Linked DNA regions of Homo sapiens: regions 1, 2 and 4 are each linked to region 3. The links are contacts of gene promoters, found by promoter capture Hi-C in blood cells and fetal thymus (Javierre and others, 2016). All regions are on one chromosome and are shown on one strand. Each heading gives the region's core, a stretch centred on a gene start or on the middle of the fragment in contact. The rest is flanking DNA. Distances are from core to core; before and after follow the strand shown.

What was found. Contacts are between HindIII fragments. The CHiCAGO score rates a contact against its expected background, and 5 or more counts as called.
Region 1: a fragment that was not itself captured here is called in contact with the fragment with the promoter of NDUFB11 in region 3 in 3 of 17 cell types (naive CD8 T cells, total CD8 T cells and total CD4 T cells); the score reaches 6.6 in naive CD8 T cells.
Region 2: a fragment that was not itself captured here is called in contact with the fragment with the promoter of NDUFB11 in region 3 in 1 of 17 cell types (monocytes); the score reaches 5.6 in monocytes.
Region 4: a fragment that was not itself captured here is called in contact with the fragment with the promoter of NDUFB11 in region 3 in 1 of 17 cell types (non-activated CD4 T cells); the score reaches 5.1 in non-activated CD4 T cells.

What each region holds. Positions count from the first base shown.
Region 1 is chrX:47,838,209-47,841,226 of GRCh38, forward strand. All of the region lies in intron 1 of ZNF81 (zinc finger protein 81), which reads left to right. It also overlaps the pseudogene RPL7P57. Among named protein-coding and RNA genes, the nearest start is that of ZNF81, 2.8 kb to the left of the region's middle. The HindIII fragment of the contact is 564 bases long and covers 1,055-1,618 here.
Region 2 is chrX:47,674,433-47,677,250 of GRCh38, forward strand. No RefSeq gene overlaps it. Among named protein-coding and RNA genes, the nearest start is that of UXT, 17 kb to the left of the region's middle. The HindIII fragment of the contact is 2,187 bases long and covers 374-2,560 here.
Region 3 is chrX:47,143,403-47,146,112 of GRCh38, forward strand. NDUFB11 (NADH:ubiquinone oxidoreductase subunit B11) reads right to left here and starts at 1,300. Exons shown (of 3, transcript NM_001135998.3): 1 at 1,071-1,300. The coding sequence starts at 1,277. It overlaps RBM10 (RNA binding motif protein 10), which reads left to right and starts at 1,819. Exons shown (of 24, transcript NM_005676.5): 1 at 1,819-2,083. RefSeq lists an enhancer at 1,843-2,112. The HindIII fragment of the contact is 2,886 bases long and covers 1-1,644 here.
Region 4 is chrX:47,995,420-47,998,134 of GRCh38, forward strand. All of the region lies in intron 3 of ZNF182 (zinc finger protein 182), which reads right to left. Among named protein-coding and RNA genes, the nearest start is that of ZNF182, 7.2 kb to the right of the region's middle. The HindIII fragment of the contact is 5,411 bases long and covers 1-2,715 here.

The DNA.
Region 1 (3,018 bases), core at 87-2,586, 690 kb after region 3:
TTTTTTGGCAGATTCCTTGGATTTTCTGCATGAGCAATCATGTCATATACAAACAGGGATAGTTTTATTTCTTTCTTTCCAATCTTTATACCTCTGCTTTTCTTCCCTTATTACACTGGCAAGAAGTTCCAGTACTATGTTGAATAAGAGAGTGGACATCTTTGCATTGTTTTCAGTCTTAGGGGGAAAATATTCAACCTTTTACCATTAAGTATGATTTTAGCTGTAGGGCTTTCTTTTTTTGGACCCTCTTTTTTGGTTGAGGAAGTTCCCCTCTATTTTTAATTTCAAAAGTAGTTTTTATCGTGAATGGGTGTTGAATTTCATCAACACTCTGAATTTTGATGATCTTGTGATTTTTTTTCTTTTTTAGCTTGTCAGTATGGAGGGTTATGCTGATTGATTTTTGAATATTGAACTAGTCTTACATTCCTGGAATAAACCCTACTTGGTTGTGATGTATAATTCTTTGGATATATTGAAGGAATTGATTAGCTAATGCTTTTTTGAGGATTTTTGCATCTAAGTTCATGGGAAATATTTGTCTATAGTTTTCTTTTTTATACTATCTTTGTCTGGTTTTATTTTTTATTTTTGAGACAGGCTCTCACTCTGTTCCTCAGGCTGGAATGCAGTGGTGTGACCATGGCTTACTGCAGCCTTGACCTCCCAGCCTCAAGTGATTCTTCCACCTCAGCCTCCTGAGTAGCTGGGACTCCAGGCACACGCCACCACACCCAACTAATTTTATTATTTTTTGTAAACCGGGTCTCACTATGTTGCCCAGGCTGGTCTCAATCTCCTGGGCTCAAATAGTCCTCCTGCCTCAGCCTCTCAAAGTGCTGGGATTACAGGTGTTAGCCACTGCTCTTGGCTTTGTCTGGTTTTAGTATTAGGGTAATACTGGCCTCATTGAATGAGTTGGGGACTATTTCCTCCTCTTCTGTTTTCTGGAAGAGACTGTGTAGAATAAGTACTAATTTTTATTTAAATATTTAAATATTTGGTAGACTTCTCCAGTGAAGCCATCTGGGCCTGGAAACTTCCATTTGGAAGCTTTTTGATCATGGCTTCAATGTCTGTAATAGTTATGTAACTATTCAGATTATCTATTTAATATCATTTTAGACTACAGGTTAAGCATCCCTAATTCAAAAATCTGAAATCCAAAATGCTTCAAAATCCAAAACTTTCTGAGTGCCAACATAATGCCACAAGCAAAATTTCACACCTGATTTTGTGACAGGTCACAGTCAAAATGCAGTGAAAACTTTGTTTCATGCACAAAATTATTAAACATGTTATATAAAATTACCTTCAGGCTATGTTATAAGGTAACATAGTGTACATGAAACATAAATGAATTCTGTGTGTATACTTGGGTCTCATTCTGCAAGATACTTTATTATGTATATGCATATATTCCAAAATAAAAAAAAACTGAAATCTGAAACACTTCTGTTCCCAAGCATTTTGGATAAGAGACATTCAACCTGCATTTAATAGTGGGTGAATTGTGGTACTTTGCATTTTACAAGGAATTGGACTGTTTCATCCAAGTTGTTGAATTTATGTGCACAAAGTTGTTGTGGTATTCCCTTACTATCCTTTTAATGCAAGCTTGTCCAACCCGCTGTCCGTGGGCCACATGTGGCTCCGGACAGCTTGGAATGCAGCCCAACACAAATTCGTAAACTTTCTTAAAATATTGTGAGTTTTTTTTGCATTTTTTTTAAAGCTCATCAGCTATCGTTAGTGTTAGTGTATTTTATGTGTGGTGAAAGACAATTCTTCTTCCAGTGGGGCCCAGGGAAGCCAAAAGATTAGATACCCCTGTTTTAATGGCTGCAGGATCTGCAGTTACATCTCTGTGTTTCATTTCTAATATTGGTAATTTGTGTCTTCATGTCTTCTCTCTCTTTTTTTTTTTTTTTTTGCAGAGACAAGTGAACATTTATTTTTGTGCCTTTCTTCCTATGTGTATTTCGAGTCTTTTTCAAAACAAGTCCCCAGGAATCTCCAGATTCAATTATGTCCCTGGGCTTGGTCGACTGCTGCAGGATTCTTAGGAAGCATTATACAAATGCTAGAGTTACTCATTAACCAACATTAAACCCTAGGATAGAAGATGCAGCAAAGCAGGACTCCTTCCTCCGTGGAATGTGCTGATTTCAGATGAGGCCGCAGCCAATGTAGAAAATGCTGGAATTTTTCCTTGAAACTGGACTGTGATGAGAGGTGCTTGCCATGAACATAAGCTACTGTCTTTTCTTTTCTTTCTTTCTTTTCTTTTTCTTTTTTTTTTTTTTTTTGAGACGGAGTTTTGCTGTTGTTGTCCAGGCTGGAGTGCAATGGCGCAATCTCGGCTCACCCCAACCTCCGCCTCCCAGGCAGGTTCAAGCGATTCTCCTGCCTCAACCTCCTGAGTAGCTGGGATTACAGGCATGCGCCACCATGCCCGGCTAATTTTTGTATTTTTAGTAGAGACGGGGTTTCTCCATGTTGGTCAGGCTGGTCTTGAACTCCTGACCTCAGGTGATCCGCCCGCTTTGGCCTCCCAAAGTGCTGGGATTGCAGGCATGAGCCACCGCGCCCGGCGAGCTACTGTCTTTTCTTTGACCCTTCCTTTCCAGTTTTTGAAGATAAAGCAGGAGATAAACTTCTCTGAAGATACTTGATAAAAATTCCCCCCAAAAATAAAAACACATGCTTCCACTTCATTGATACAAATTTACTGCAGTTTGGCACCTGGGTCTAGTTCAGCTGGTGGATGAGCAGATTGATGTGTTCACCCCGATAGCCAGGTGTGCCCGTCTCCTTGAGGAAGCCTACTCTATTTTTGGTAGCATGACGGGCCACTGACAGGTGGAAAGGGCTCAAGAACCATGAGATCTCCTCGAAATGTTTCCCTGGGAAGGCAATTTCATGAATGAGGTCTTCCAAGCAAATGACACCAAACTTCCCCAGGTGCTCCTCAATCACTGTACTGTCTGTCAGAGGGATGGTCTTATTCTTGAC
Region 2 (2,818 bases), core at 217-2,716, 530 kb after region 3:
GGATGGATGTCATCTGGTTAGGGCTCATCTAAATGCTCCCTCCATAGACGCCAGCTGAGTTCTGCCCCATGTTGCTTTTCGCTGTGACACGGCAGCACTGAGTTCCAATGCAAAGTCCCACATTCACTGTGTTCTCCCTTCCTCAAGCACACAGATTCTCTCTCTGCACCACATGGCCACTGCCAGATGGTGAGGGAAGGGTAGTGTAGGTGATTCAAGACTGTCTTTCCTACCTTCTTTAGTGCCTCTTTCCTTAAAATAATATTAAAACCAAGTACTGTGACTGCTTACCTGCTTTTTGGTTCTTATGAAGGTGGTTTTCTGTGTGTGTAGTTGTTCAATTTGGTGTTCCTGTCGGGGGACAATCAGTGGAAGCTTCTATTTGGCCATCTTGCTCTGCTTCCAAGCCTCAGTAGTTTTTCTTGAATAACCACTTCCCAATTTGTTATATTACCTTGGTAAATTTCCAGAGTCTTTAACTGGTTGTTTTTGGCAATTTTGTCCACTTTTGTCATGGCGTTTTGTGGAGAGGATTGCCAAGCTCCTTAGTCAACCTTTCCAGATGTCTCTCCCTTCCTTGTAACTAGAGTTTTGATTGCATCACTTAAAAAGTGTTAGTATGTTTCACAAAAATGTGTACCAGTATGAATTAGCAGTATATTTATTTATTTATTTGTTTGTTTATTTTTTAAGACGGAGTCTTGCTCTGTTGCTCAGGCTGGAGTGCAGTGGCGCAATCTCGGCTTACTGCAACCTCCGCCTCCCTGGTTCAAGCCATTCTCCTGCCTCAGCCTCCCAAGTAGCTAGGATTACAGGCATGCACCACCACGCCTGGGCAATTTTTGTATTTTTAGTAGAGATGGGGTTTTGCCATATTGGCCAGGCTGGTTTCAAACTCCTGACCTCAGGTGATCCGCCCGCTTCAGCCTCCCAAAGTGCTGGGATTACAGGCGTGAGCCACTGCTCCCAGCCTTTGCCCATTTTTTAGTTGGGTTATTTATTTATTTTGTTTTAGCAAAGTGTAAGGGTTCTTTATGTGTACTTTTTGTGCCATATCTGAGAAACCATTAAGGGGCAGGATTTGAATACATATCTGGCTCCAGCATTCATGTTCTTAACCATTACACCACGCTGCCTGTCTTGAATTAGCAGTTTAGATATAAATGATTTATGTATGTCGTGACTTAGACTCTTGATTTATTCCAAACATGCTTAGTCACCATGCAGTATCTGTATTTTCACATGTGTATTTGTATATATGTGATGATTGTGACACATAAGAATGGTTATTGCATTATTCCCAACAATAGAAGATAATGGTTTGAAGCAGCAATAAGTGAGTACTATTATTGCTCTCCCTATTAATGGTGCCCTTATTTCAGTGATGACGTTCTCTGTCTTTTTTGCCTATCACTTTTGTTTAATATTCTTTCCTCACTTCTAGAAAAAAATGTGTTTCTTCTTTAATATCTGATATGGTTAATGACAGAGCAGGAGCACCGTCATCTTGGACAAACACCGCCACTCTAAGTTCAAGCTCCCTTTCTAGCCTCATGCATTTCAAGGAAATCACTTCTTTTCTAACTACAAGCAGCCAGAAAAGAGCAGACAGTAAAACACAGATAAGACAGCTCAGGCACAGAGGGAGGCGGGGGGGAAGTCTCCTGGGTAACTGCCGAACTTCACCCTCATACAATGGACCCCAGTGAAACAGTGGGCCTTACTAAGCACATTCCTTTCCCTTCAGGTGCACTAAGATAGGGAAGCTAAAAGTAGACTGGGGGGGTATGCCTGCAGCTGCAGGAAGATGTATGGGAACAGACACAAAACTCTCCCTCCCAGATAAGCAAAATGAAGAGACACAGAAGCAGTCCAAGCCTCTGATAAACTCTCCCACCCTAAATCTTTAAAAACTCTTAGTCTGTAAGAGAGTGGGCTCTGATCTAACTTGGCCAGAATCCCCTGTCAGGTTTGTTTTCTCTAAAATAAACCTGTCCTTGACTGTTGAGCCACCTTTCATGTTTCTTTCCTCTTTCTTTAATTCTTAGAATTAGGCTTTGTGTTCCCCACCCAAATCTTATCTTGAATTGTAATCCCCATAATCCCCACGTGTCAAGGGAGAGACCAGGTGGAGGTAATTGAATTGAATCATGGAGGCAGTTTCCTCCATGCTGTTTTCATGATAGTGAGTGAGTTCTCACGAGATCTGATGGTTTTATAAGGGGATCTTCCCCTTTCACTTGGCACTTCTCCTTCCTGCCGCCTCGTGAAGACAGTGCCTTGCTTCCCCTTTGCCTTCTGCCATAATTGCAAGTTTTCTGAGGCCTTCCCAGCCATGCTGAGCTGTGAGTTATTTAAACCTCTTTCCTTTATAAATCACCCAGTCTCAGGCAGTTCTTTATAGCAGCGTGAAAATGGACTAATACAATATCCCTCATAGCAGATGAAATATTGCATCCTTACCATGGACATCTGTGGTTAATCCATTGGTGTAACTTGACAAACATAGTCAGATGGTGTTTAAAATATATTCACACTTACATAAATAGACATCACTTTAAGCTTACTGCACTACTTATTTCTTAGTTACCTTACATTACGTAACAGGAATAATTTTTTTGTTTTATTTTTCTATAACCAACTGAAAGAATAAGTCATATCCCATTCTAGTATGTTCTGAAATTTTTTAAGGCTTTAATGTTAAAAGTTGTCATTCCTTTTCTTTTCTTTTCTCGTTTTTAGAGACAGGGTCTCCCTCTGTTGCCCAGGCTAGAGTGCAGTGGTGCTATCTCCGCTTACTGCAGCCTTGACCTCCTGG
Region 3 (2,710 bases), core at 50-2,549:
CCTGGCATACAGCAGGCCCTCAATACATATTTACAGAATGAACAAGCATCCTATATATCCAAGCCCCTTAACCAGAGGTTAGTATTGATGAAGTACTTATTATGTGCCAGTCTTTTCACATAGAAACACCTCACAATATCTCAGTGAGGTGAAACATGGCAATAATAAACACATTCTAGTGCTGAGTACATACTTACGAAGTGCCAGCTGCTGTTCTGACCATTTTTACTCATTTAATTACATGAGGCAGGTGGGGTGTCCTATTTTTTAGAAGGTGTCCTATTACTGTTCCCATCTTACAGACAAAGAAACTGAGGCACCAAGGGTTTATGCTACCAAGATCACACGGGTGGGTAACCGTCAGTGCTGCCTGATTTCACAGCGTCTGCTATTAATACAGCACAGCAGACCTGGTAGCCCTAAATTCAAATACCAGTTCCACCTCCACCATGTATTCAGTTATGTGAGCTAGGGCAATCCACTTAACATCTCTGTGCCTCAGTTTCCTCATCTGTAGGATGAGTATAATAATAGAGCCCACCTCGAAATGGGGTTTGTTTCGAGTATAAGATGAGCTAATGCATGTCAAGTGTTTAGAACACAGACGGGGCCCGGAGCGGTGGCTCATGCCTGTAATCCCAGCACCTTGGGAGGCCGAGGCGAGAGGATCGCTTGAGCCAGGAGTTCGAGACCAGCCTGGGCAACATAGCGAGATCTCGTCCCTATAAAAAAAAAAAAAAGAATGCAGACGGCAACGAGCAAGTGCCATATCGGTGTTTAGTATTATCGTTGTACTATACTGCTTCTAACGTGTTTTGAGCGCTGTCCACTTGAGGTGTGATTTCTGTCTGCAAAATAAAACCAATCCTGCCTCTGGCCCTGGAACGAAGATACCGAGAGACAAAGGAGGAACACAAGGTAGGCAAAATTCCCAAGTCTTCTAGGCTTTCGCCGGCCGCGCAGTCCTCTACTGCCTAAGAACGTCCTCTACAGCGCCCCATCTGCCGATCCCGGACTGACCCCTTCGGGGTTCCGTCCCCACTACCCCCCCCCCCCCCCCCGCCTCTCACCTTCTCATACAAGTTTTCGTCCTCGGGTTCTGGGTCCTCTTGCCACGGTGTGGTCGGTTCTGGGGGCCGCTTTCCCGCCACAGCGGACGGGGCGACCACAGTCCTGGAGAAGCTAGATTCCCAGCGGACGCGGGCGGCCGGGAGCCCTCGCGTCGCCGCTGCCGCCAAAAGACGGCGAGCGCTCAAACCAAACAGCCCAGCCGCCATGACAGATGGTGCTGCAGGGTCTCAGGGGCGGGGAAAGAAATGCGACTGTGCGCAGCTGCAGTGGGTGCGAGCGCGACAATCATCGCCCCGCCTCCGCCACGCTATATAGGTCCCAGATCTGATTTGGTTTTCCAATGAGGCGGGGCGTTGAGCAACCCTCTTTGCCTCCAGTTGTCGTGGCTTCGTGGGGCCAACCATTTTCGGCCAGGCTGAGAAATTTCTTATTGATGGGTCTGCTCATTTCCTGCATAGGAAGAAATCGGTGACATTTGGGTGGATACAGTTCCCAGCCAATCGCCCCGAGTTCCCTCGCCCACTGGGGAAAGAGGCAGAGCTTCCGCTAGTCTTTCATCTTCAAAGGAAATCAAGCTTCTAAAAAGCGGGCCCTGCCGAATTGGCTAATAGCTACTCCTTTTCTCCACTAGGGGAGCGTTCGCAAGGGGTGTGGGGAGGTGGCCAGCGCTTGCCAATCAGAGGAGGCCAGGGCTGTCCCCTAGCGGGCGGTGACCAATCGCCGGGGCCGGCCAGAGCGCGCTTCCTTAGTAGGTGGATGGTGGTCGGAGCGCCGACTCCCTTCTCGTCGTCGCCATTTTGAGCTGGTGACTGTGGCCGGCTGGGAGTAGGCGGCAGTGAGTTTCCCTGGGAGGGCAGCGCGCTTGGCGCTTCTCCCCTCCCCCCGATCTGCCTCCAGTCTCGGACTTGGTTGTTGCGCGCTCCGGCTCCGGCTGAGCTGGGAGAGTTGGAGGAGGTGGCGGCGGGCAGAGGTGATGTCTGGGAGCCCTTCCTTGACAGCCCGGGCCGAGAAGGTGAGCGTCGACGCTGGTCGTGGGGGCGGAGGTAAGGGGCCCGGGGCGGGGACGTAGAGGAGGCGCGAGGGCGGACTTCGGGTCGGGGGAGATGCGCGGAACGGAGGGGTTGGTGCAATGTCTCAACCCGGGAGGGTTTTTTTTTTTTTGGTTTTTTTTTTTTTTTTTTTTTTTTTTGGTGTGAGCAAAGGCGCGTGCGCGACTGGGACATGGGATGGGTGCATGCGGGTTGGGGGAAGGGAGGGACGGATGGGAGTGGGCTACTGTGGATCACTGTGTCGGCTACATCGAAGTTTATCAGTGGGGAAGCGGTTGTCTGCGACTTTGAGTTTGTGCATAGGAGAGGGGATGCTGCTCTGTGTTACTCTGGTGTTTATCGGTCCATGGGGAAATATTCTGTGGTTCTGGTCTCTATTCCTGGGGGATCGGAGGGGGGATGTGACTCTGGTCTTTACCCTTTGAGGGGGGGCGGTCTGTGACTCTGATCCTTATCCATGGGGCGGGGCTTGGGGGACGACTGTCTTTTGATTGACCCTAACCCACTTATTGGGTGGGAAGGGGCATGCAGGGAATGTGTGTGTGACTCATTGCCCCTTCTTTTGGGGAGTTTGTATCTGTGACACTGAC
Region 4 (2,715 bases), core at 114-2,613, 850 kb after region 3:
AGAGATATCAGAGAAAAGAGCAAGTAAACTTCAAGGTAAACCAATAAAAATTACCTAATCCCAAAAATAGAAAAAACACTGCAGAAACATGAACAGATTCTGGGACCTCTGGGACAATACCAAAAGGTCCAAAATTCATGCCATCAGAGTTCCAGAAGGAGAGGAGAAAGAGGATAGTACAGAAAAATATCTGGAAGAAATAATTCCTGAACACTTCCCCAAATTTGGCAAAAGACAAAAATCTATATGTTCAAGAGGCTCAGCAAGTCCAAAACAGGATAACCCCAAAGAAATCCACACTCAGACACATTATCACCAAACTGCTGAAAACTAAGGACAAGTGAAAAACAACATATTATTTACAGGAGAACAACTATTTAAATGACTGTGGATTTCTCATGAGAAACCAGGGTGTGCAGAAGAAGTGGAACAGCATTGTGAAAGTTCCAAAAGAAAACAACAGTCCACTGAAAAATCTATATGCAGTAAAAATCTCCTTCAGAAATGAAGGTGAAAGAAGACATTCTCAAGGAAGGAAAACCAAGACTATGTTGCCAGCAGACTTGCTCTGAAACAACTGCCAAAGGCAGTTCTTCATAACAGGCAATTGATATCAGAAGGAAACTTAAGATTGTGAACAATGAAGGAAGAACATCAAAGTGGTAAAAATCTGGGTAAATAGAATAGATTATCCTTGAGTTCTTTAAAATACATTTGACAGTTGGAAGAGAAATAACATTTTCTGGTAGAAATTTCAATGTATGTGAAAGTAATATTAATACATAAGACAACAAAAACATAAAGGGGAGAGGGAAAAGGGACTTATAAGATGGTAAGGTTCACACACTCCATTTAAAGAGGTAAAATATTGATGCTAAGCATGTTGTGTAAACTTAAATATATATGGTAATTTGCAGGGCAACCACCAAAAAAAAAACTATGTAACTCTGTAAATAGATATAGTAAAAAACACAATAGACAAATAAAAATGTAATCTAAGAAAATGTTCAAATAACCCAAAAGAAGGCAGAAAATGAGAAACAAAGGAATAAAAAGGGAGAAAAACCAGAAAACAAATAATAAAGTGGTAAATACCTAAATCCAAGAGTATCAATAATTGCATTAAATGTCAATGGACTGAATGTACCAATTAAAAGGAAGAAGTTTTCAAAATGGATTAAAAAAATATTACCCAACTGTTATGGACTGAATTGTACTCCCACTCCACAAATTCATACATTGAAGCCCCAACCTGCAATGTGACTGTATTTAGAGACTGGGCCTTTATAAAGGCAATTAAGGTTAAATGAGGTCATAAGGGTGGGGCCCTAACCCAGCAGAACTGGTGTACATATAAGAGAAATGGACATCAGAGCTTGCTCTCTGTGTGTGTGAGCAGAGGAAAGGCCATGGGAGGGCACAGCAAGAAGGTGGCCATCTGCAAGCCAGAAAGAGTGCCCGAGGCTAAAACCAAATCAGTCAGTACCTTAATCTGGGACTTCCCAGCTTCTGGAACTGTGAGAAAATTAATTTATGTTGTTTAACCCACCCAATCTATGGTACTTTGTTATGGCAGCCCGAGCAGACTAATATACCCAGCTACATGCTGTCTAAAAGAATATACTGGCCGGGCACGGTGGCTCACACCTGTAATCCCAGCACTTTGGGAGGTCGAGGTAGGCGAATCACCTGAGCTCAGGAGTTCGAGACCAGCCTGGGAGACATGGCAAAACCCCATCTCTACAAAAAATTAGCCAGTCGTGGTGGTGTGTGCCTGTGGTCCCAGCTACTTGGGAGGTTGAGGTGGGAGGATCACTTAAACCCGGGAGGTCAAGGCTGCAGTGAGCTGAGATCATGCCACTGCACTCCAGCCTGGGTGAGAGAGGGAGATCCTGCTAAAAAAAAAAAAAAAACACAACATACTTCAAATATAATAATACAGGTGGGATAGAAGTAAGAATGGAAAAAAGTACACCATTGAAATACTAACCAAAGAAGACTGGAGTGACCATATTTAATAACAGCCAAAGTAGACTTCAGAGCCAAAACTCATCCAGGATAATGAATGACATAAGGATAAAAAAATTCACCGGCCAGGCACAGTGGCTCACACTTGTAATCCCAGCACTTTGGGAGGCCGAGGCGGGCAGATCACTTGAGGCCAGGAGTTCAAGACCAGCCTGGCCAACATGGCAAAACCCCGTCTCTACTAAAATACAAAAATTAGCTGGGCGTGGTGGTAGGCACATGTAACCCCAGCTACTTAGGAGGCTGAGGCAGGAGAATCACCTGAAACCGGGAGGGGGAGGTTGCTGTGAGCCAAGATTGCACCACTACGCTCCAGCCTGGGTGACAGAGCAAGACTCCATCTCAAAAAAAAGAATTAATTAATTCACCAAAAAGATACAACACTCCTAAAAGTGTATGCATCTAACAACAGAGCTTCAAAATATATGAAGGGAAACTGATGCAACTGACAGGAGAAACAGGCAAATCTGCAATAATAACTGTATACTCAATACTCTTTTCTCAGTAACTGATAGAACCAGTAGACAGAAAATCAGCAAGAATATAGAACTAAACACCATCAACCAACTGTATGCAATTGAGATATACAAAACACGCCACTATAAAACAACAGAATATACATTCTTTTCTTTTCTCTTTTTTTTTTTTTTTGAGACAGAGTCTCGCTCTGTTGCCCAGGCTAGAGTG